4 separate regions of the Homo sapiens genome follow, and all the other regions are linked to region 1. The links are contacts of gene promoters, found by promoter capture Hi-C in human tissues and cell types (Jung and others, 2019). All regions are on one chromosome and are shown on one strand. The core of a region is centred on a gene start or on the middle of the fragment in contact, and the rest is flanking DNA. Distances in the headings are between cores, read along the strand shown. Region 1 holds the start of CLSPN (claspin). Region 2 overlaps KIAA0319L (KIAA0319 like). Region 3 overlaps AGO1 (argonaute RISC component 1). Region 4 overlaps PSMB2 (proteasome 20S subunit beta 2).

Region 1 (5,886 bases), core at 983-3,482:
TAAGATAACACTTATAAAATCCTTGCAACTGTTTCTGCCACTGAGTAAGGCTTCAATAAACGTTAGCCCTCCATATATGATGGGGAGTGCCATAGATGTATACCTGGGAATCGTTGATGTAGAAATTAATAGTAAATGGATGAAAAGGTGGATAAACCAAGACACAAAAAGAGAAGAGGATGGATGATGGGCTCTTGTTGGTGGGGACAGAAGTGGATTGAGAGATGGTGGGGAAGTAAAGAAATGAAGATGTGGAGAGGGAGCTTTTTTCTGAACCCAGCTAAAGGTGGAAACTTGGAAGAGGAGGCCAGTGGATTGGGTGAAGAACCAACCATTTGGTATACCTGTGACTGAGGAGGTTCTCAGGATGCAGGACTTTTAGTGCTAAAACTAGGAAAGTCCTGGGCAAGCTGGGCCAAGCTGGCCACACTGGCAGTGGATATGACCATGGAGGGTGAAGTGAGCAATAAATACTCTGACCTTTCTTTCCTGGTGGCCTCTCATCTCCTTACAGTAACCTTATAAGGTGTCTTTACAGGGGCCTGACCCAACCAGAAGGGCAAGGGAGCTGGGATAATACAGTCTAGAGAGGTCAGCCTTGCCTTGACACACACCAGGGTAAAGGAAGGACAGAGAATTGACCTGGAGAGGCAAAAAATAATGGCCAGCACAGTGGCAAAACTGGGATTAGAATTGTCTGGGATAGGCCAGGTGCGGTGACTCACACCTGTAATCCCAGCACTTTGGGAGGCTGAGACGGGCGGATCACGAGGTCAGGAGTTCAAGATCAGCCTGGCCAAAATGGTGAAATCTTGTCTCTACTAAAGTTACAAAAAATTATCTGAGCGTGGTGGCACATGCCTATAATCCTAGCTACTCAGGAGGCTGAGGCAGGAGAATCGCTTGAACCCGGGAGGCGGAGGTTGCAGTGAGCCGAGATCACGCCATTGCACCCAGCCATGGTGACAGGGAGAGACTCTGTCTCAACAAAAAAAAAAAAAAAAAAAAAAGAACTGTGTCTGGGATAAACCTGATTTCAGAGCTTCAATTCTTTTTCCAGCCTTGTTTAAAGGTAGAATGCCCTCTAGGAGTGATGAGTGCTTTCTACATCCTCAAATTAACTCTACAGAGAATTATAAAGATTATCCAACCATATTCTTTGGTATCTGAGCAGCCCACAAAACTTTTTTCTTTAGAGACAAGGTCTCCCTCTATCGCCTACGCTGAAGTGCAGTGGTGCGATCATAACTCACTCTAACCTCAAACTCCTGGACTCAAGCCATCCTCCCACCTCGGCCTCCCAAAGCGTTGAGATTACAAGCGTGAGCCATGGAGCCCGGCCCTCTTTAAAAAATAAAAGTGGGCCGGGCACAGTGGCTCACGCCTGTGAGGGGTATGAGGCCTCCCAGCACTTTGGGAGGCCGAGGCGAGGATCATTTGAGATCAGGAGTTCGAGACCAGCCTGGCCAACATGGTGAAACCCCGTCTCTACTAAAAATACAAAAATTAGCCAGGGGTTGGTGGCGGGTGCCTGTAATCCTAGCTACTCAGGAGGCTGAGGCACGAGAATCGCTTGAACCCGGGAGGCGGAGGTTGCAGTGAGCCGAGATCGCGCCACTGCATTTCATCCTGGCTAACAGAGGGAGACTCCATCTCAAAAAAAAAAAAAGTGTGTGTGTATACACATACATGTGTATGTGTATATATGTGTATGTATATATGTGTGTACATATGTGTGTGTGTGTGTATATATATATATATATATATATATATATATATATATATATATTCAGTGGTAAGTGTCATGTACAAGAGGCACACAGGATCTAGCTGCTCCAGAAATGAAGTCAGTGGAGAAAATCCCCACGGGAACCTTGGAATTCCTCTAAAAAGTTCAGGTACAGGACACTCCCAGGTGCCCAGGAACCGTTTCCCAGCTCACTTCCCCCCGAAAGACTCACCCCTCCAATCGCACTCGATGCTTTGGCAAGTGTCAAAGGTCAAAGACCACGGCTCGCCTGGTACCGACTGCCCCGCCCCCGTGCACCTCCAGCTCCCCCAGGCTCCGCTACCAGCAGCTGCGACCCGCCAACTCAGCCTGGGTAATAGGAGATTGGGCGGCCAGAGGCGCTGCGTGATTGGTGGGTCGGAAGGGGGCGGGGACTCGCTGGAAAGCCCCCTCTGGATTGGTGCAAACCATCTGGGTGGGACCTCCACTCTGGCTGGGCGGGAAAGCAAGAACAGCACTGCTGGGCTGGAGACGGCGGGAGCCGCTGCTCTCCGGCTGAGGGAATCAGAGACAGCTCCGTCCCTAGTGGAGCGCAGGGGAGGCAGAAGTCATGACAGGCGAGGTGGGTTCTGAGGTGAGTTTATGCACACGCCCCCCACGGGGGCTTAGAAGGCCGGGCACCGAGAGGTTAGGTGGGGCCGGGGTAGACCCCGCTGACCCGAGGCGCCCGGGCGGGAGGACTGCGGCTCCCGGCGTTCGCCGCGCCGGCTCCCGCGGCCTCGAGACTCGGCCGGGATGGGTTCCGACCGGGCATCCCGTCCCGCCGCCGGGCTTCCCGCGCTTCGGGCTCCGTGGCCGGAGAGCTCCAGGTCTCTGCGGCGCGCACTGCCGGCAGCCCAGCCCCTCTTCAGCCGGTTCCTGCCGCCAGCCCTCCCCTTTGGCGCGTTTCCTGTCGCGGAAGCTCCTCCCCTCAGGGTGCTCTGAAAGCCGGGAGGCTCTAGCCGAACCCGGCCGCAGCGGTGCGGGGGGATTCTCCGCAGAGAGAGGGCGAGCGAGGGTGTTAGGGAGTTCCACACTGGGCCTGGGAGGGGCCCTGGAGGTCATCGCGCGCAGGCCCTTTGCGTTTTCCGACCGGGCCCCGAGTGGGGAAGTCACCGCTGGGGCTCCTGGCTGGTGGCTGGCAGCTCCCTGGCGAAATTGGGCATAGAAAACAGATGTTTCCAGAGCTGTGTCCTTTCTGGGCCGGATTCGGGCAAGGCACTCCCGCCTTAGGAGCAAAATTTAAAGGGGCGCCAAAACCCTCAATCAAACTCATATTTTAATGCAATATTTTTAAAAAACCAAAATTAATGCAAAAACTTTTTATGATTTGATATTGAACAAAATATCAGACGTTTAAACAAAGACGAGATCCGACCAGTCATTTGCACGACCTTGCCTCAATCACCTCACCCTAATTCCATCCCTGTTTCCAATAAACTTTATTTACAAAAGCGGGCATATTATTTACCTCATGAGCTGTAGATTATTGATTTAATTTTTTAAAAAATATTGCATTAATGTTATTCATTTTGATTACTGAATTTTTTGAGACCTCACCCCACCCTGTTACTGGCCCTGCCCTTTGACGTTGCTGCAAATTGCCTAGAAGATAATCGTCATTCAAAGCAGCCCTATTCCTTGAGCTGTCTGGTTACCTAAATTCGGTTTCCACACTCACAAACAGAAGTAATAGTTTTACTGCTTTGGATTGTTGAGAGGATCATCAGTGCATACATATTAATTCTCAGCAATCCCAGCACTTCGGGAGGCTAAGGCCGGCAGATTGCTTGAGCTCAAGAGTTCGAAACCAGCCTGCATAGAAAACATGGCAAAACCCCGCCTCTACAAAAAAAAAAAAATTAGCCGGGCGTCGCCTGTGGTCCCAGCTACTCGGTCCCAGCTACTCGGGTGGCTGAGGTGAGAGAATCCTTTGGGCCTGGGAGGTCAAGGCTGCAGTGAGCCATGATCCTGCCACTGCACTCCAGCCTAGGTGACAGAGTGAGACACTGTATCAAAAAAAAAAAAAATTTGTACCTTGCATTCAAATCAATTTAATAATTTTTTTTTTTTTGAGACGGAGTCTCGCTCTGTTGCCCAGACTGGAGTGCAGTGGCACAATCTCGGCTCACTGCAACTTCTGTCTCCTGGATTCAAGCGATTCTCCTGCCCCAGCCTCCTGAGCAGCTGGGACTACAGGCACACACCACCACGCCCAGCTAATTTTTGTATTTTTAGTAGATACGGGGTTTTACTGTATTGGCCAGGCTAGTCTCGAACTCCTGACCTTGTGATCCACCCACCTCGGCCTCCCAAAGTGCTGGGATTACAGGCGTGAGCCACCATGCCTGACCAATTTAATAATTTTTTGAGAAACCACTCAGCTGAGGCCTTGTGCCCTGTTACATTACTGATGTTCATATTTCTCCCTTTATTAATAAGTTGATTCAGAGCCCTGAGAACACTAAGGAGGTAGACTTGGCATCTAGGGTTAGCTTTAAGGTCACTAACTGATCAAGTCACCTAACACACCCCTCCTCCTTAGGTTTTTATTTGCGACTTTTTAAACTGTCTTATTTAGAAATTTTCAAACCTATACAACCGTAGAAAGGATGGTATAATGAACCCATCACCTTACTTCAACTACAGTTTGAATATCTCTCGTCTGAAATGCTTGGGACCAGAAGCGTTTTGAATTTCAGATTCATTTTGGATTTTGGAATATTCGCATACACATAATGAGATATCTTGGGGGAGGGACCCAAGTCTAAACATGAAATTCAGTTATATTTCATATATACCTTACACACATAGTCTGAAGGTAATTTTATACAGCATTTTAAAATAATTTCGTGCATGAAGCAAAGGTTTTACTGCAGCTCATCATATGAGGTCAGGTGTGGAATTTTCATCTAGTGGCATCATGTCAGTGCTCAAATATTTTGGAATTGGGAGCATTTCAGATTTTCAGGTTAGAGATGTTCAACCTGTATTTTCAAGTCATGGCCAATCTTGTTTTATTCATACAGCTACCCATTTTTCCTCTCACAGGATTATTTGGAAGAAAATCCAAGATATCATATTATTTGAACCACAAAGATTTTAGTGTGCATATCTAACAAACAAGAGCTTTCCAAAAATAGATACTACGATATTATTACCACACCTAAGAAGTATCTAGTCAGTGTTCAGATTTCTTTGACTCAGAGATATTTCATTTATTTTTATATGCCACTTTAGCATAATTATTTACATTTTTAGTTTTTTGAATCATCATCCGAAGTTGGCATTTTGTAATTGTTTATATTATATATGTGTATATATGCATATATGTATGTATTTTAAGATATACATACATATATAAAGCATACATTTATGTATATAGAAATATACAGGGCCGGTTGTGGTGGCTTACGCTTGTAATTCCAGCATTTTGGGAGGCTGAGGCAGGCGGATCACCTGAGGTCAAAAGTTCGAGACCAGCCTGGCTAACATTGTGAAACCCCGTTTCTACAAAAAATTAGCCGGGCATGGTGGCACGCACCTGTAATCCCAGCTACTCGGGAGGCTGAGGCTGGAGAATCGCTTGAACCCAGGAGGCGGAGGTTGTAGGGAGCCAAGATCGTGCCATTGCACTCCAGCTTGGGCAATAAGAGCGAAACTCCGTCTCAAAAAAAGAAAAAAGGAAATATACATATAGCCGGGCGTGGTGGCTCACGTCTGTAATCCCACCACTTTGGGAGGCTGAGGCGGGCGGATCACCTGAGGTCAGGAGTTGGAGACCAGCCTGACTAACATGGAGAAACCCCATCTCTACTAAAAATACAAAATTAGCCAGACGTGGTGACACATGCCTGTAATCCCAGCTACTCGGGAGGCTGAGGCAGGAGAATCGCTTGAACCTGGGAGGCAGAGGTTGCGGTGAGCCGAGATCGCGCCGTTGCGCTCCATCCTGGGCGACAACGGCAAAACTCCATCTCAAAAAAAAAGAAATATACACATAGCATATAGAAATATACATACATATATAAATATATAGAAATATACATACGTACACACATATATACATTCACTTATGTGTTAACTTTCTTTATAGGTTTCTCTCCCTCTCTTTTTTT
Region 2 (5,886 bases), core at 1,930-4,429, 240 kb after region 1:
TAAATGACCTTCTCTTTAAAAACAACAAAACAAGCCAGAAAAAAAAAAAAAAAAAGGAAAGGAAAGGAAAAACCTTCCCAAAAAACAAAATAGTGCTCTGATTCAGGGTTCTTTGTGTGGGTTTCCAAGGGAGGTTGGTATGATTGTGCTGAATGCAAATAATTTATCAGCCGGTAATAACTGCAATGAGAAATGGCAATCAACTGCAGATTCTTAACAATACCATCTACAAGTGGGCTACACAGGGAATTGGTAGATTCACGACATCATATCTAGGTGCTTTTCTTTTTAGAAAAACAATTCTTTCTTTTTAGAACCACTTTTATGTATAGGCAAAAGTTTATCTGTTATAATTTAATACCTGTGCTTTTTGAAGTACAAAGACAGTATTACATAGAGAGGTGTGGGCTCCTTCAAGCTGTGGCTTGGAGGCGTGCTCTCCTTGCTGACAGCATTCTCCAGAGTCTTTTAGTCATAAGGTGGTGGGAGAAAAAGCGAAGCAGGAGATTCTGAGTACATCATATGCAGCAGTGTAACCCCCTAGTTACAGTTGTTTTTTTTTTTTTAAGTGCATAGCTTAATCATTTGCCTTCAATCTGCCTTTAAATATTATAAAGCCCTTGATGACTGGATTGTTTCTGAACAGGTGACTTTATGGTAGGAGAGCTATTTTCAGCTACACCAGTGATTTGATTAATACTTGGCTGTGAAAAATGCCTTTGGGCTAAACCTTGGCAGATGGGTCTTTTGAAATGGAATAGCACCTGTATCCAATTAATGCAAACTTTTGATTTATTAAGTTGTTTTAGGTAGAAGTTAAAGGCATTAGAATTGTGATAGAGTGGTTTCCCTGTTTTCACCTAGGTGACCAGAACTTTGAGGTATCTTTTTCTGTTTTTCCTTTTTCATCATTACTCAGGACAAGGGAAGGTGAATGGATCTAGATGTCATCAGTGATGCATGGCTCTTTGCCTAGGTGAACTGGGAAGCTATTCTCCACTGTTGCTTTGTTCAGAAATTTTCATGGTGAAGGCTTATGTCACCTTTGAGTGAAGTCGAATGGTCTGAAATAGGTAGCTCAGGGAGCTGAAATTTGGTTGGTCCTTTCATGAGGAAAGATTTCTTTGGGATTTGAAAGGATTTTCTAGTTTAGAGTTTAGACAGGAAAGGCTGTTTCCCAGCTGGTTATATTATTCAGTTATCTCTTTTTTATCCACTCTGCTTTTCTTCAGTTTCTTTCTTTGCACATCTCTCATATTTCCTATTCAGTGCACTCCCCAATTTAATTGGAAAAGCTCATTCTAATTTGTTAGTGAACCAGGAACTTTACTTTTCTCTCTTGCCTCTTCCTTCTTTCAGCCAAGGAAATTAATTAACATTAAGGATCTGATTCAAATGACTATAACTCAAGATATTCCATATTGGAGCTGACATCTTTTGCTTGATTTTGTTAGTATAGAAAAAATCCCACAAATTTATTTAAATATTGGGTGAACTTTTAAAATTAACAAGAAAGCTCCTTGAATGTCTACTATGTGCTAAGCATCTTTCTGGGCCTACACATACAATATACAACCCCAGCACTTAAAGAGGGCAGAGTGTGTGAGGTAGACAAACAAATATGATCTGGTGAGAGAAATGCTATGATAGAGGTATATGTAGGATGCACAGAAGAGAGGCATCTTGGGGTGAAGGTTTCATGGGAGAAGCCTTCCTGGAAAAAGTGGTGGCCGAGCTAAAATGAAGTATAACAACAACAACATAAATAATGGCAACTAATATATACTGAGCTTTTTAATACTATATGCCAGGCTCATGTTAAGTACTTTGCATATATTTTCTCCTTTATATCTTTAATAACTCTGTAGGGTAGGTACTGTTAAAATTATTCCTGTTTTACACATGAAAAAACTAAGGAATTTGACCCAAGATGACACAGTTAGGAAGTGACTGGGTTGAGATTCAAATGCAGGAATCTCAGCTTTAGGAACTAAAGCTTTAACCACAGATTTTTGGGGTGGGGGCCAAAAGATAGAAGAGAGCAATTGTGGAATAGGGCTGTTGATCTTGATAGGGGATTTTGTTTGAAAACAAATTTCAACTCAATGTTATGAGGGACATGTATGAACATTACCTTGGGGAATGAATTTATTTTCTCACCTAGACTAAATGAGGGTGGTTTTCATATTTTCTTTAGCCTGTGAAGTATAAGTATTCTGTTTCAAGTAGGTAGAGTAAAAGGACTTTCCCCTACTCTTCTGCCTATAAATATTGCCCTCTTCTAGGGAGATGTTCTGGTACTGGGTACTGTTATTCTTTTTTTTTTTTTTTTTTTTTTTTTTTTAAGACGGAGTCTTGCTGTGTCTTCCAGGCTAGAGTGCAGTGGTGTGATCTTGGCTCACTGCAACCTCCATCTCCTGGGTTCAAGCGATTCTCCTGTCTCAGCCTCCTAAGTAGCTGGGATTACAGGCATGCGCCACCACAGCTGGCTGATTTTTTGACTGCCATGTTGGTCAGGCTGGTCTCGAACTCCTGACCTTGTGATTGTTTTTCTTTCTTTTTTTTTTTTTTTTTTTTTTTTTGAGACGGAGTCTCGCTCTGTCACCCAGGCTGGAGTGTAGTGGCCCGATCTCGTCTCACTGCAAGCTCTGCCTCCCAGGTTCACACCATTCTCCTGCCTCAGCCTCCTGAGTAGCTGGGATTACAGGTGCCTGCCACCACGCCCGGCTAATTTTTTGTATTTTTAGTAGAGATGGGGTTTCACTGTGTTAGCCAGGAAGTTCTCGATTTCCTGACCTCGTGATCCACCTGCCTCGGCCTTCCAAAGTGCTGGGATTACAGGCATGAGCCACTGCGCCCGGCCACCGATTGTTATTCTTTTCAACAGTTTGTCACAATCCAGTATCTTTGAGGCTTTTTAGTGACAGTGTTATAGGAAAGGACTTGCTGTTGTAAGCATTCTTAACCAGCAAAGTACTGCAAGATTCAGGTTTTGTGATTGAGTCCTTGGAAGCTTGTTTTCCATCTAGCAGATAATCAAGAGTTAGTGTGAATAGTAGCTGATATGTATCTGTTGGGCAAGTAGTTCCATGAGGAGTTTGTTTTTGTTCAGAATGATCTTTAGGAAAAATGGAAATACCACGGTGAAGGGAAAGAAGTCAGAATATGTACACAAAGCCTATTAATTCTTGTGTAGCAGTTAGTGTAGTTTCAGCAAATCATCTACACCATACATTTAAAAAACTGTACTCTTAGCAAAGCTAGGCACATAGCAAAGGCAGTGAGTAGTAATTATTTTCAAAGGACTGCTTTGTGAGGCAGCTGCCACCTTTCAATCCAACCTGTGTGTAGTTGAGGAAAAAAATGTTACCCCTTTTGAAAAGGAGGAGAGAGGGCAATGGTTATTACCTTGGCTTTTTTCAAACTTCGTAATACCTGATTGTGTCCTTCAAAGGATTTAGTTACCTCCTCTGCCTTGTTTCTGAATGTGCTAACCCCTGCAGGGTAGAACTGATGTGGAGAGTAAGGTGGAACCATTTTTTTTGTATTTGTTTATTAGTGGGTGTGCAGGTGACAGACATGCTGACAGTCAAAAGGGAGGTGGAGGGTGCCCCCTGAGGAGGTTTGTTTTTGAACGGTTCCTGTGAGTTGTTTTTGGGATTGATAATGTGCCTGCTTATCTCATTTTCATGTGGCAGCCATCTTGGCTGAGACCCATTGCTTCTGAGAGAATGCATACTTTTGATGATAGCTGTAGGAAGACAGATGGTGTAGAGCCATAGTTCAATTACTGAATAAAGAGACAAATTTAAGGCTGTGCCTTTCTCCTTGATAATAGTTCATTTATAGGTATAATTATCAAGGGAAAGCTTTGAATGAAGTCTTGACCATATTAGAAAATTGTGAGATTTCAAGAAAAGAATTTTAGCTTCAATGACGGTAAATATTAATTGCAAATTTTTTCTACAGAATACTCTAACCATGTATTTGTTTCTGCAGCGAAAACCCCACCGAAGAGAAGAATTTATCAACTGCTTTTTTTTTCTTTTTTGAAATAATACTGGTAGCTCATTCTCTCTACTCTTATTTCCACCATCACAGCCTTTCCTTTGGGATACAGTCTGATGAATTTAGTTAGAATTTACATTTCTGGACACTAACAGTATGACTCCTGAAACAGGGGACGTTCTGTCTCTGCTCCCTACTTGGTTGCTAACCAGGGCAGTTTTCAAGTTTGCTTGAGAAGCCAAGCTTATTACCTGAGATTTAAGAATGCCAGAGCCAACAGCACTGTCTTTAAATATTTCCAGAGTTGTTCACAGCTTTCTAAAAGTATTTAATGAATTTCCTTCTGGCAATAATTCATATATCCTGTAGACTTTTCCACTCTGCTACTTGGAATTATGAAACCTGGTCTAGATTTTGTGCCAGATATATTAGAATTCTGTCTTTTGAGAGGTGGTGATGTAAGTAAGCATTGCTAGTTCCAGAGCCTCCTGTTTTGGGGATCCTCCAGGTAATACATATGGGAGCACTGCTTTCTCTGCTTTGCTATGATTTTAGAAAGAGGGGAATTGGCTTTGCTCCACTGTTCTCACCCTGGGTAAGCTTTCTACATGCTCCTACCAACAGTGCATTCCAGACTTTCCCAAAAGATTTTCAGTCTAAGGTTCTACCAACTGTAAGCCATTTTTTGTAAAGATTTAATATTGCTTTTGCCTGGGCCCTGGGAGCAGAGCCAGGGTATGGCAGCGTGGGCAGGGAGAGGAACTGATCTAAAATTGGAGTATATTTTCATCTTACCTTTTATCCCAGTTACTTCTAGAATCCAATATTGACTCTACCAATGCCTTTCTGCTTCCTCCTTTTATGAACTCTTTGTCCCAAGAGTATCAACACTGAAAATTTAATCTTAAGTTAAATTATTCTTCAAAGGTTAACTATCTGGTAAATGATGGACCTAGAGCTGAAACTAGAATCATTTAAGATGTTAACTGTCTTTTAACCACCTAAGACAAAGAACTATGATTCAGGGAATGGATGAAAAAGAACTGTTTTTTTCTTTTCGTATTTTTATTATTGAACACATGATGTAACAACATTAAATAACATTTAATTTTTAAAAACTCAGTCAAAATCCCACGAATTAAACATGTGAACTGAGAGATCAGAGTACCTCTTCCTCTTTTTTTTTTTTTTTGAGACGGAGTCTCACTCTGTCGCCCAGGCTGGAGTGTAGTGGCACAATCTTGATGACTGCAACCTCTGCCTCCTGTGTTCAATGATTCTCCTGCCTCAGCTACTTGGTGCCTACCACCACGCCCGGCTAATTTTTGTATTTTTTTAGAGTTGGGGTTTCACCATGTTGGCCAGGCTGGTCTCGAACTCCTGACCTCAAGTGATCCGCCTGCCTTGGCCTCCCAAAGTGCTGGGATTATAGGTCTGAGCAACCGCGCCAGGCCTACCTCTTCCTCTTATTGGAAACCATTGAGATTAGTTTTATTAGCAACACTATAGCCCGCTAACCTCCCCTGGGCCTCACATTTCTTTTATAGAAGCTAGCTTTTTCCTAGGCCTCACATTTTTTACTTGTAGTCATTGTCGAAGATATAAGGGCCCGAGTCTTTCAAGATGACCGACTAGAGGTATAGAATTCAGTAGAGAAGTGACAGAAAACACATGAGGCACTGAGGGAGAGGGAAGCGAGGTGGATAACCCAGGCAAGATTGGCTGGGAGCCAGAGGGGCTTCCCAACGTGGAGACAGAATAAGTGAGCAATCCCCAACAGTCCACGTTCTCACCACCTCCTGTAATCCTAGCCACGAGAGAGTGCTTTGACCCTTGTGGGCCCTGATACTGGCAGAGGGAGATCCCTGGAGCCTGTGT
Region 3 (5,886 bases), core at 3,008-5,507, 150 kb before region 1:
TGGGAGCTAACCTCTACTCCTGTCTTCTCCTCCCACCAGCCATCGAGTCCTATTAATTCTACCTCGTCTCTCAAATCTGTCCCTTCCTCCCTATATTCGTTGTTGTAGCCTTATTCCACTCCCTCATTATCTTCCTCCTATGCCAGGGGACTATTTGGCTAATCATATCCCCCACCAAACTTAATTCCCTTAATGAGACGGACACTATTTTCCTCATTTTGAATTGTGCCTCCCCTCCCCACAATACTGCTGGCACAGTGCTTTGCATGTTTGTTGAATGAAGAATAAATGAAGGCTCTGTGAAGTATTCCTGCATAACAATCTACAGTATTATTCTCACCTAAAATCTATTAGAGATGTAATCAGTCCCAAAAGTTTGTTTTGCTGGTAGGAAAAAAAAAGAGAAAGACCGCACTTTAGAAATAGAAGCCACTGTTGTCTTTATAAAACACAGAATTGTGCTGCTGCTGCTGCTGCTGCTGATGTTGCTTGCTTCAGAAGGAACTGTACATTACAGCTGCTGGGATAATTTCACAATGGACTGGACAAGGTACAGCTCAAAGCAGGACACAAACACAAATCTCAAAGGGAAACAAATGCAAACAAGTACACAGCTGTGGGGATCCAGAGACATTTCCCCATCCATGCTGGACTTGAGAGGGATAAAAAGTTTAGAAACTAAAGTGAAAACCAGAGTAGTCACACATGCCCACCACATGGCTGCTAAGTGCAACATCACATACCAATTAGGCTGGACTGTGTGCACAGGAAAGTAATTTCATTTTTCCTTATTGCTACTACACCAAGGGACTCAGTGCATTCAACAAATGTCTTTACTTGCACAATTCTTGGAGGGTTTCCTATTTTCCTCTGTAAAGAAGAAAATCTCCCTTTCCCACCTCATTCTGTTTTGTTTTTAGCTCATTCCTTCCCCTCCCTTTCTTGGATGCCCAAACAGCAGCCAGAGGCTCTAAGTCAGTATGAGTAGAGTAAGGGAGAGCACCAACCCAGCCTCTCTCCCTGCCCAGGGAGAAGGCAAGTCCTATTAAGTCGGAGGAAAGCGAAAACCAGAAAATACCTCCTTCCCAATCTGCTTAGAAGGCCAAATAGTAAAAAGTGCCCTGCATATCCCTGCCATGATCAGATTTTAAGAAGGAAGGTATTCCAGCTACCATCCTGGATTGGCCTAGGCCCCATATATAAATAAAAATAACGTCCCCCAATGTAGTTTCCAAAACTGCCTTTTGGCTAGTTTGAGATGATTTTTCTACCCTGATGGGGAAGAAACGTCCAACCTTGTTAGTTACACATGATTCCAGGTCCAAAACTGTCCCACCAGCCTTACAGATATCCTATGGGCCAGCTAATAGTCAGTGCACCCTTGGCTGCCCATCTTGAGTGCTGGCCTTATTCACAAACAGAAAAAAAAAGTATCCAAAAACACTGCTGCTTAGCTAAATAGGAGGCCACAGAGAAGCTATCTAGCAGGTGGGCATTAGGAGCTTTTTAGGGAAGTTTCAAATTTCTAGGTACCTTCTTCGGCTTTATGTTAAGCCTAAGTTCCCAGCAACAGTAGCCCCAGGCTTATCCCTGGAGGCCAGTGTAGCACCTCGATCCCTAATGGATCAGGTTGGACTGGATAAACAATCAAAGAACAGTGCTCTCCTTTCCCACCTTTTATTCAAATTCTCTCCATTCTCTTCTCATCACTCTTTTTCCTTTATGTCCATCCCCTAACACTCAAACCCAGGATACCCAAATAGCTCAACCCTAAGACAATCTCAGAAAAGCCAGGCCCCAGGTAAAGAGAAAAAGAACCAGATTTAGAAAAAGCAATGAGAGAAACCAGCTCCAAGGAGTGGACAGGTGTGGAAAATGCCAGAAACCCTCCTGACTTCACACAAGTTGGGCAGGTCAGTTGCTCTTCTCTAGTATAAGCTTGAGGGCAGTCCAGCCCAGGTGGACATCTCTGGGCTTGGGGAACAGGTTCTTGGTCTTCTGCAGTCAAGGAGCTAAGCCTGACCCTGCCAGCTAACAGTGGGATCATTGCAGCCATGCAGAGATTTCATCATCACATAGGCAGACAGGCAGGCAGGCAGGCAGGCAGGCAGGCAGGCCGGCCAGCAAGCAAGCAGAGTGAATAGAAGAAAAGGGAAAGGAAGCCAGGCAAAGAGAGAAGAGGAAAAGGAAGGCAAAACAGTGGTACAAAGGGAACAAGAGACCCAACTAAGAGGATGAGGCTGGGGGTCCCCCAAGCACTTCCTTGAAGCTTGGGTAAGAAGCACCACTTAAACCAAATCCACATGAGCCAAAGCTTGCTGCCAACACCACTTCTCCATCTGCATGCACCACCTTTCAAACAGGAATAATCTCAAGGTCGGGGTATTTTTCAAGTCTCAAAAATTATCTTTTTACAAAAAAATCAGAGTAAGAACTCATTTCTTGTCATTGCCCAAAGCTGATTCTCTTGCTTTTTATTTCTTGAATGGCATAAGCCACGTCAAAGGGCTAAAAATGCATTTCAAGCCCCAGCTGAAAACCAACTGGAGAGAGTGAGGCAAAGAGAGAAAAGGAGAGAACACAAACTTGTTGCTGGGAGTAGAGGCTGCCACCTGCTCCCTATGGACATTTGCAAATGCTGGTGAATGACTGGACCCTCCAGGAATAGTGCCCTGATCCTAGCCCCAAAATGTATCCAAGTGGAGAACATGCAGAGCCCACTGTCCCAGGAGAACTCCCCTCCCCAAAGGGTGACAGAACACGAAGTAGACTGTATATGAAGGCAATGGACAGGGCAGATGGAGTGTTAGCATCACTCTCTTTAGGCACTTGTGTAAGGAATGTAGGCTCTCCAGTGAGCTGCCTCCTCCCAGAGCCCTCCATTCTGTTCTTCAGCTGGGCTTGTGCCTATAGGGCACCCCATGCTGTAGCCAGCAGGAAAAAAGTAAAGGAGGAGTTACTCAACAGTCCTGATGCTTTCTCCATAATGAATGTTTGTGCTACGTTTTGTGAGTTGCTGAACAATGTAGCCAACCAGAACAGAACCTGGGATAGATTGTTTTGCATAGCAAATCCGGGTCATACAAGGGCAGCTAAGGGGAGGAAATGGTAGTTCTAACTCTACAGGCCAGGATTTAGACCCTTCTTCCTCCAGCTGGCCTCCAAGCCTGGGCTAGGTCTAAAGTAATCATGGCTTCATCACCAGATCAGGATAGATCCAAGCCCAGGCTCCTCAAAGAGGAAATTCCACACTGAAGTTGCAACTCCCCATCCCAAGCAGTGGGGCAGGAAAAAAATGAACAGTCAAGGAAAAAGGGCAGGGGGGATGCTTGCTTCAAGGCCAACAGAGACCAAGCTAGAACCACCACCTTCTCCAGTCCTGCAAGACAGCCAAACCCCATGTCTCAAGACAAAAAAAAAAAAAAAAAAAAGTCCATGCCACCCACCCACATGCCCTAGTGGGAAACCAGGAAAAATTCATTTTTGTAAACAGAAGCAATAGGGAGCAGCAAAATTCCCCAGCCTGTCCACAGGACACACTGCAATCTAGGATGAGCCAAAGGGTCAGAGGACAGTCCAGGGGAAGGAAAAAGATGCACTTGCAAGAAAGAGTGCAGGACAGTGCAGAGGAGGGAGGCTATAGCAAGAAAAAGGTATTATCTGCACAGAGGAAGGATGGAGCCTGGACCCCATCTTGGGGCGATAACCACCCCCTCCCTACCTAGCCAGGTCAGAGAACAAATCAGGTACACAGTTCATTCTGATGGCTCAATGTTTCTGGGATATAAACTCATCAGGCATGGGAAGGATTTCCAAATTTTGGCAATACACTCAAGTTATGGTATAAAAATAACATTTTGTTTTCTCTCTTTTTTCTCATTTTAGACCTAAGAGTTTTTTGTTATAAGACACCCCAGTTAAGAAATATTGAAACATAAGAGACTTGACCATCAAGGGAGAAAAGAAGCCAAGAGTGAAAAATGCTATGAAAGTAACTCCAGACCTGGGCGGGGCGGGAGGTAGGAGGAATAAGGAGAAAAGGAGGCATAAGTGGAAAGGCCAGGGGCCTGTCATCTCAGCAGCTCCGAGACTTGTCATGTTTGAAAGTGCAAATGTCAATGGATTTTAACCATCTTGAGGTTGTGATCTTTTAAAAAGCTCAATGAATGAGGAAGTCAATTCCTTCAAATGCAAAATAGCTGGCTTTCTGGCTGGAGGTTTGTTGGGTCTGGGGTATTTCTTCCCCATCTACCTCCTCTCCCACCCCCACCCCATTCCCCAAAGAAAGGTACAAAAGGTTGCAGTTCTGCAGCATTACCGTTACAGGGAAGGCACTGGTTACCCACCAGCGGGCGGAAGGAAGACAGGGTCGTGTCACTTCAAAGCTAAGTGCCATAGTGCCTTAAGTATTACTAGGGGCTGGATGTCTGTCAGGGAGGAGAAGTAAGGTGGGGCAGAAAATGTGGACAGAGAGGAATAAGGGTAAGGTGGGGGGTGGCAGCTGGGGGAGGAGCAACCAAAACCATTAAAAAATCTTCCTACAAACTGGATTCTGAACCCATTAAAACATCTAGTATCCTAAAATATTGATCTGGGTCTGGTTTCATTTTTCTTCTTAAACAAATCTAGTCCTTTTCTGATTAAGGCTCCTAAAAAATCCTTCCCTCCTCCCACCCACTTTCTCAAGCCCCTCACTTTCCCATCTAAAGTATCAAACCCAAACCTAACCAGCTTTTGTCTGCAGGGCTACAGAGTTGACCTTACCAAGCTGTCAAGCATGAGTCTTTAGCACTGTGAGTCACATGAGACACCTGTGTGTATGGTGGGCACCAGTGCTGCCCCTTTTGGTCCAGTGGGGTCAGGGCCAGATGTGACAAGATGGGGTGAGGGGTGGGGGACATGAGGTTGATATCAGAGATTTCTGGCTGGTGGTCTGTCTTGCTGGCCCTGTTCCCCACTCTTACACCACCTCTATAGAAGGAAACAAGGCATCCTACACTCCTCCCTACCCCACCTCCCTCCTCCTTGCTTCCTCTGGATTTGGGTGGCACAGCTCCTGGGGCTTGGAAAGCTTTCTTCTATCCAGTGAGGTAACAGCGTTCTGCCTTCAAGCGAAGTACATGGTGCGCAGAGTATCCTGGTGAACCTGCACGGCTTTGGCCAGGGCCTGGGGGTCCCGCCCATTGCTCTGCCCCGATATGTGGCTCCCCTCTCCACTGAAAAGGAAAAAATGAAAGAAGTCCTTCCTGGTGAACTGAGAGCTGCTGCTAATTCCCTCGCCCAGCCCTGGGATGCCAATTCCCATACCAACTTAAGAGAGAAACCCAACCCAGGATTGGGCAGACGAGCCCAATGACACCAAATTGGACAGCACTCATTTCCTTCTACCCAAGGAAAGTTAAGAAGATCTGGCACAATAGGCTGAAGCAAAAAGGAGGCCAACCTGATCCCAGGCCTCACCTGTCATGCTCCTTGTCCACCAGGTGGTATCGTGCCCGGAAAGCCACCAGGCGGGCATAGTAGGCAGGTGCTGGGATAGAGACAGAGCGTGTGCATCGTACGTAAGTGTGGCACAGCTGGTACGTCAGGATCTGGAGCTCATCTGCTGTGAAACGGTTGTCATCCCAAAGAACATAGTAATGGGATGGTCGGCTGGTGCCCTGGGAAGATAGGAAGGTGAGGGGTCCCAGGCTGGGCAGAGAAGATGGCTGATAATAGGGGAACAGGATCACTGTTAAGAATATGGCTGGGTAGATAATTCACCCATGAACAGGCAGATGCAAAACTACCAATGTCATAAAGCACTCTTCTTATAAGCAACCTGCAAGTGTACTCAGGGCTTATTACGACAGCAGTCCTGGCCGGGCACAGTGGCTCATGCCTGTA
Region 4 (5,886 bases), core at 1,509-4,008, 140 kb after region 1:
TATTGACAGTAATCACCCAGGTCCATAGTTTACATTAGGGTTTACTTTTGCTGTTGTGGATGTTATGGGTTTGGACAAATGTATAATGACATGTATCTACCATTACAGGATACAGAGTATTTTCACTGCCCTAAAAATCCTTTGTACTCTACTTATTCATCCTTCTCCATCCCCACAACTCCTGACAACCACTCATCTTTTTACTTTCTCCATGGTTTTGCCTTTCCCATCATGTCATATAGTTGGAATCATGGATTATGCAGCCTTTTCAGATTGGCTTCTTTTATTTGGTAATACACGTTTAAGGTTACCCTATGTCTTTTCATGGCTTGATAGCTCATTTCTTTTTAACATTGAAAAATACTCCATTGTCTAGATATACTACAGGTTATTTATCCATTCACCTACTGAAGGACATCTTGGTTGCTTCCAAGTTTTGGCAATATGAATAAAGCTAATGTATACATCCATGTGCAGGTTTTTGTTTGAACATAAGTTTTTTTTTGCGTAAATACCAAGGAGTGTGATTGCTGGATCATATAGTAAGAGTACGTTTAGTTTTTTCAAAGTGTTTTTGTAACAAACCATATTACTTAATACCTGTGACTGAAAGTCTCTATGTGTTAGTGAAAGTAGAACTTTGAAAATAATAATTCAGATTATTTTTATTTTTATTTTTTTGAGATGGAGTTTCACTCTTGTTGCCCAAACTAGAGTGCAATGGTGCAATCTTGGCTTACTGGAACCTCTGCCTCCTGGGTTCAAGTGATTCTCCTGCCTCCATTTCCCAAGTAGCTGGGATTACAGGCATGCACCACCACGCCCAGCTAATTTTGTATTTTTAGCAGACACGGGGTTTCTCCATGTTGGTCAGGTGTCAGGCTGGTCTCGAACTCCTGATCTCAGGTGATCTGCCCGCCTTGGCCTCCCAAAGTGCTGGGATTACAGGCGCGAGCCACCGCACCTGGCCGGTAATGTGGATTTTTATCTCGAGATTGCTTATCTGTGTTTCTCTTTTTTTCTTTTTCTTTTTTCTTTTTTTTTTTGAGACGGGGTCTCACTCCAGTTGCCCAGGCTGGAGTGTAGTGGTGTGATCTCAGCTTACTGAAGCCTCAACTTCCCGGGTTCAGGTGATTCTCCCACCTCAGCCTCCCAAGTAGCTGGGACTACAGGTGTGCACCACCACATCTGGCTAATTTTTTGTATTTTTAGTGGAGGCAGGATTTCACCATGTGGCCCAGGCTGGTCTTGAACTCCTGGACTCAAGCAATCTGCTGGCCTTGGCCTTTCAGGGTGCTGGGATTATAGGAATGAGCCACTCACTGTACCTGGCGTACTTACCTGTGTTTTTCTATGACTTTTTCCCAAAGCATACAGCATTGTTCCTCCTTACTTATTCTAGCCTTGTTGCTATTCTAGAGCTGTCTCCATTTCATCGACAGCATGTTAAAAGATGCAACACTAAGTTAAGGATTGAATGCATTAAAGATTGTGTAGGATGTGCTAGGAAAGTTCATATGGTTGCTAAAGGTGTGTGTTATTCCCTTCCCACAGGGACTAAATAAATAGAGCCTTACCACGTGATCTCACCCCCTGTGCCTGTTTACTTATCTATGAAATGGAGATAACTTCCTAACCCCACAGGGGTGCCAGGAAAATGAATGCTTGTAAATCATAATATTTAACATTCATGTGACTTTTGCCCAAAGCATTTTGCTTAATAATTTAATCTACTCACTATTCCACTGAGAAAGATAGTCTCTATCACTGAGATGAAGTGAAAGGCATAAAGTGTCAAAGGGACTAGCTCCAGGTCACACAGCAGGTCAGACAAAGCTAAAATAATGGTGCCATAATTATTTGACTATTCTGCCTTTGGTTCTTCAGTAGTGTTTCTAGAACACTGATGCTATTCATATTTTTATTATGGTTTGAGTTTTCATCTGTACTTGCTTAAAATAACAAGTTACTTTTTTTAAAGTTACTTACTACAGATCTATAAAGCAGTTTATTTTCTAGTGCCTAATAATCTTTGACTGATAATTTCTCAATAAATAGTACCTCTCAGTGCTAGCTTTGACCAAGGGCTTGTACAATCTGAGGGATCATGAAGTTTGAAGAGAAGCTAGAGACATGTAGGATTGAGAGGAGGAGGCAAATTTACATACATTGTTTTGTCCTGGGTGAAAGATCAGTAGTCTTTTCTTTAAAAAAAAAAAAAAAAATATATATATATATATATATATATATATATATATATTTTTTTTTTTTTTTTTTTCTTCCAAGAAAGTCATTGTCACCAAGTGGTCTTTTCTTCACTCCTCCTTGAGAAAGGAAAATGGGTCAGATATTAGTTTTTCTGTCACCCAGAAGTTCCTGTGGTGTTCAGCATTTTATGACTTGCCATGTACGATGTTCCTCTGACTTATCAGGCAGAACCGGAGTAAGAATTCCAGCTTTGGGCACAATAAATACTGTGTCATAAATATCACAGACATTAAGTGAATTAAGCTCCTTTTTGGAATTGAGATAAGAATGGCAGTGTGCTTCATGCAAATGCAGTGAATCTGGTTTAATCTTCTCCTAGCAGAAATGTTTGATGTCTTAACAAATATCCCTTGTAGACAGTGACATGGGGCTCTGGTAAATATTGACTACCTCTGCCTGAGCTTTTCCAGTAGGTCCAATCTCTGCTCCCCCATCTCCTTATCAAAATAGATTCTTAGTTCTAAAATATGAATTTATATTTTAGTCGTCTTATTCTGGGAAGAGAGATGATAGTTTGTCAGTGTTCCTAATAAGTGCAAAGTCACCAAATTTAGTATATTTATATGGTCACACCAGTTGGCAGATGTGACTCATTTTGGGTCAGCCAGTTACCATGTATAACTTCTGTGTCTGTAGCTCAAATTGTTTGATTTCTAATTTGCTCTGTGTATGTGTGGTGGTTTGGTTGGGAGGACATTTACTACCACTGAGTATATAATGAATCTTACATAAACTGGTTCATTAAAATGTAGGCAATTTAGCATTGTGGTTAAGAGCATAGTCTCTGGAATTGGACTACCTGGGTTTGAATATTTGCTTACTGACTTACTAGCTGGATGTCTTTGGACAAATTCTAAGCTTAATTTCCCTACTTACCAATTTCAAAAAGTTATTATGAAGATTAAATAAGGTAATAATGCAAAGCTCTTACTTTTTTTTTGAGACAGGATCTCACTCTGTCATCTAGGCTGGAGTGCAGTGGTATGACCACAGCTCTCTGCAGCCCCTTGACCTTTCAGGCCCAGATGATCCTTCCACCTCAGCCTCCCTGGCAGCTGGGACTGTAGGTGCATACCACTATGCCTGGCTAATTTTTTGTAGAGATGGGGTTTCTCCATGTTGCCAGGCTGGTCCCGAACTCCTGGGCTCAAGCAATCCTCCCGCTTCTGCTTCCCAAAGTGCTAGGATTACAGGCATGAGCCACCATGCCCAGCCCACTTGTGTTTTTATGCTGCGATTGCTGTTTGGTCAAAGAAGCAATTTAATGGCTATAAGTTAGTTTTTCGTGAGGGATCATTTGTTGTGCTTTTTTTTTTTTTTTTTTTTTTTTGAGATAGGGTCTCGCTCTGTCACCTAAGAGGTGGCACAGTCACAGCTCACTGCAGCCTCAACCTCCCGGGCTCAAACAATACTCCCACTTCAGCCTCCCAAATAGCTGGAACTACAGGCGCCAAGCCACCATGCTGGTATTGATAGGGAAAATAGAAGTAAAATAACATTGAACATATATTATGTGCTAGGATTTTTCTAGATCTACACAGTCCAGTATGGTAGCCAACTAGCCACATGGGGCTATTTAAATTTAAGTTAATTAAAATTAAATAAAACTTAAAATTCAGTTTCTGGTGGAAAATCTCCTGGTAGACTTTGCCTGAATGCTAAATCAACTTTTGTTCTTAAAAAAAAAAATTCTGTTCCTCAGTCACAGCCACATTTCAGGTACCCAATAGCCACAACTATTGTATTAGACATCACAGATCTGGAACATATCCATCATCATAGAAGTTCTCTTGGACAGTGCTATTCTAAATACTTACATATGTATCTGTTATTAAGTATCCTTATTATGACACCATAAGATGTGTGTTATCCCCATTTTACTTACAAGGATGTTAAGTATTTCTCTTAGATATGTTTCCAAAGCACATATATACTATGTTAAAGGTTAAGATTCCAGCTTCAAATATCAAACTCTTTCATGGTGTCTTCTTTATTAATTAGTGGACTAATGTACAAGTGTATTTGTGCATTTAGGGAAACATGAAATGTTCAGTTTTGTTAAAATGTCGAAATTGCACATAGTATTATATAGATAAGTTTGAATATATGTCCATTGTAGGTTTTCAATAAGTGTTTGCTGAAAAAGTGTCATCCAGCTAGGTCTATATATTCTGCTGAGAATATTAATTATGCATTTATACACTGGAAGGGAATTCTTAATGAATGGAATACCGGAAGAAGTATTCTTAATAAATGGATGTTAATTTGTATAGGAATTAAAGGCATGAAATCATCAGAAGACGAAAAAAGACAGATGGGGAAAAAATTCAGAAGCCTTCAGTTTAGTTGTTTATTTAAATGCTTGTATACATTTAAGATGGTCTCTTCTTGTTGGTTAGACCCCAAAGAGCAGAAAAAGGGCTTATACTATGCTCAAGGCTTGCTTTCTTCGGCCAGGCACAGTGGCTCATGCCGGTAATCCTAGCACTTTGGGAGGCCAAGATGGACAGATCAGTTGAGCCCAGGAGTTCAAGACCAGCCTGGCCAACATGGTGAAACCCCATCTCTACTAAAAATACAAAAAATTAGCCAGATGTGGTGGCACACACCTGTAATCCCAGTTACTCAGGAGGCTGACGCAGGAGAATAGCTTGAACCCAGAAGGTGGAGGTTGCAGTGAGCTGAGATCATGCCACTGCACTCCAGCCTGGGTGACAGAGCAAGACTCTGTCTAAAAAAAAGGCTTCCTTTCTCAAATTCTCCTTACAGTTTGACTAATGTCAGAGGATGATGAGTTATGGGGCTATTTCTTTTCTTTTTTTTTTTTGAGACGGAGTCTCACTGTGTCACCCAGGCTGGAGTGCAGGGGCACGATCTCGGCTCACTGCAAGCTCCACCTCCCGGGTTCATGCCATTCTCCTGCCTCAGCCTCCTGAGTAGCTGGGACTACAGGCGCCCGTCACCATGCCTGGCTACTTTTTTGTATTTTTAGTAGAGACGGGGTTTCACCATGTTGACCAGGATGGTCTCGATCTCTTGACCTCGTGGTCCACCCGCCTTGGCCTCCCAAAGTGCTAGGATTACAGGCATGAGCCACCATGCCCAGCCTATTTCTTACTTAAAATGAATTATGTGGCATATTTGATGTAGCCCATCTGAATGCCCTAAAATTATCTCCATTTAACAGATAGAGAGACAGGTATAAACCAGGCAAATCTGGTGTCCTTGGGAACGTGAAATTTTGTGGCAAGGCTTAGAGTAGGATGCTGGCCTCCATGATGTGTAATCGTCGGGTTTCACTGCCACACTGGCCAAAGAGTTTTCATTAGAACTTTTTCCGAAGTGTTTCATGAGCCTTTGGTAATTTATCTTTTTACCTATTTATTTGTAAATGCTTAGCAAGTAAACAGTAGAAATAATAAGTTGAAAAGATATCCAGCCTGATGTAGTGGTTTTCAAACTTTATTCTGTGAAGCTGCTTCAGGATACTCACCAAGGAAGACCAGTGTGCAATGCTTTTTTTTTTTTGAGGTGGAGTTTCGCTCTGTCACCCAGGCTGGAGTGCAGTGGCATGATCTCAGCACACTGCAACCTCCACCTTCCAGTTTCAAGTGATTC

Evidence for each region. The method cuts DNA at HindIII sites, captures the fragments that hold promoters and counts their contacts. A contact is called where the count stands out against the background at its distance.
Region 2: a contact is called between a fragment that was not itself captured here and the fragment with the promoter of CLSPN in region 1, in 3 of the 25 tissues and cell types used here (dorsolateral prefrontal cortex, heart left ventricle and pancreas).
Region 3: a fragment that was not itself captured here is called in contact with the fragment with the promoter of CLSPN in region 1 in 2 of the 25 tissues and cell types used here (bladder and thymus).
Region 4: a fragment that was not itself captured here is called in contact with the fragment with the promoter of CLSPN in region 1 in 2 of the 25 tissues and cell types used here (liver and neural progenitor cells).

Annotation. Positions count from the first base shown.
Region 1 is chr1:35,766,324-35,772,209 of GRCh38, reverse strand. CLSPN (claspin) reads left to right here and starts at 2,232. Exons shown (of 25, transcript NM_022111.4): 1 at 2,232-2,363. The coding sequence starts at 2,340. It overlaps CLSPN-DT (CLSPN divergent transcript), which reads right to left and starts at 2,115. Exons shown (of 3, transcript NR_199050.1): 1 at 1,962-2,115. RefSeq lists a silencer at 2,390-2,619. The HindIII fragment of the contact is 25,943 bases long and covers 1-5,886 here.
Region 2 is chr1:35,531,555-35,537,440 of GRCh38, reverse strand. All of the region lies in intron 2 of KIAA0319L (KIAA0319 like), which reads left to right. Among named protein-coding and RNA genes, the nearest start is that of KIAA0319L, 23 kb to the left of the region's middle. RefSeq lists an enhancer at 5,544-5,886. The HindIII fragment of the contact is 4,604 bases long and covers 878-5,481 here.
Region 3 is chr1:35,918,829-35,924,714 of GRCh38, reverse strand. It overlaps AGO1 (argonaute RISC component 1), which reads right to left. Exons shown (of 19, transcript NM_012199.5): 18 at 5,461-5,660; 19 at 1-5,216. The coding sequence ends at 5,108. Among named protein-coding and RNA genes, the nearest start is that of AGO3, 9.3 kb to the left of the region's middle. The HindIII fragment of the contact is 4,306 bases long and covers 2,105-5,886 here.
Region 4 is chr1:35,624,971-35,630,856 of GRCh38, reverse strand. All of the region lies in intron 3 of PSMB2 (proteasome 20S subunit beta 2), which reads left to right. Among named protein-coding and RNA genes, the nearest start is that of PSMB2, 14 kb to the left of the region's middle. The HindIII fragment of the contact is 9,137 bases long and covers 1-5,886 here.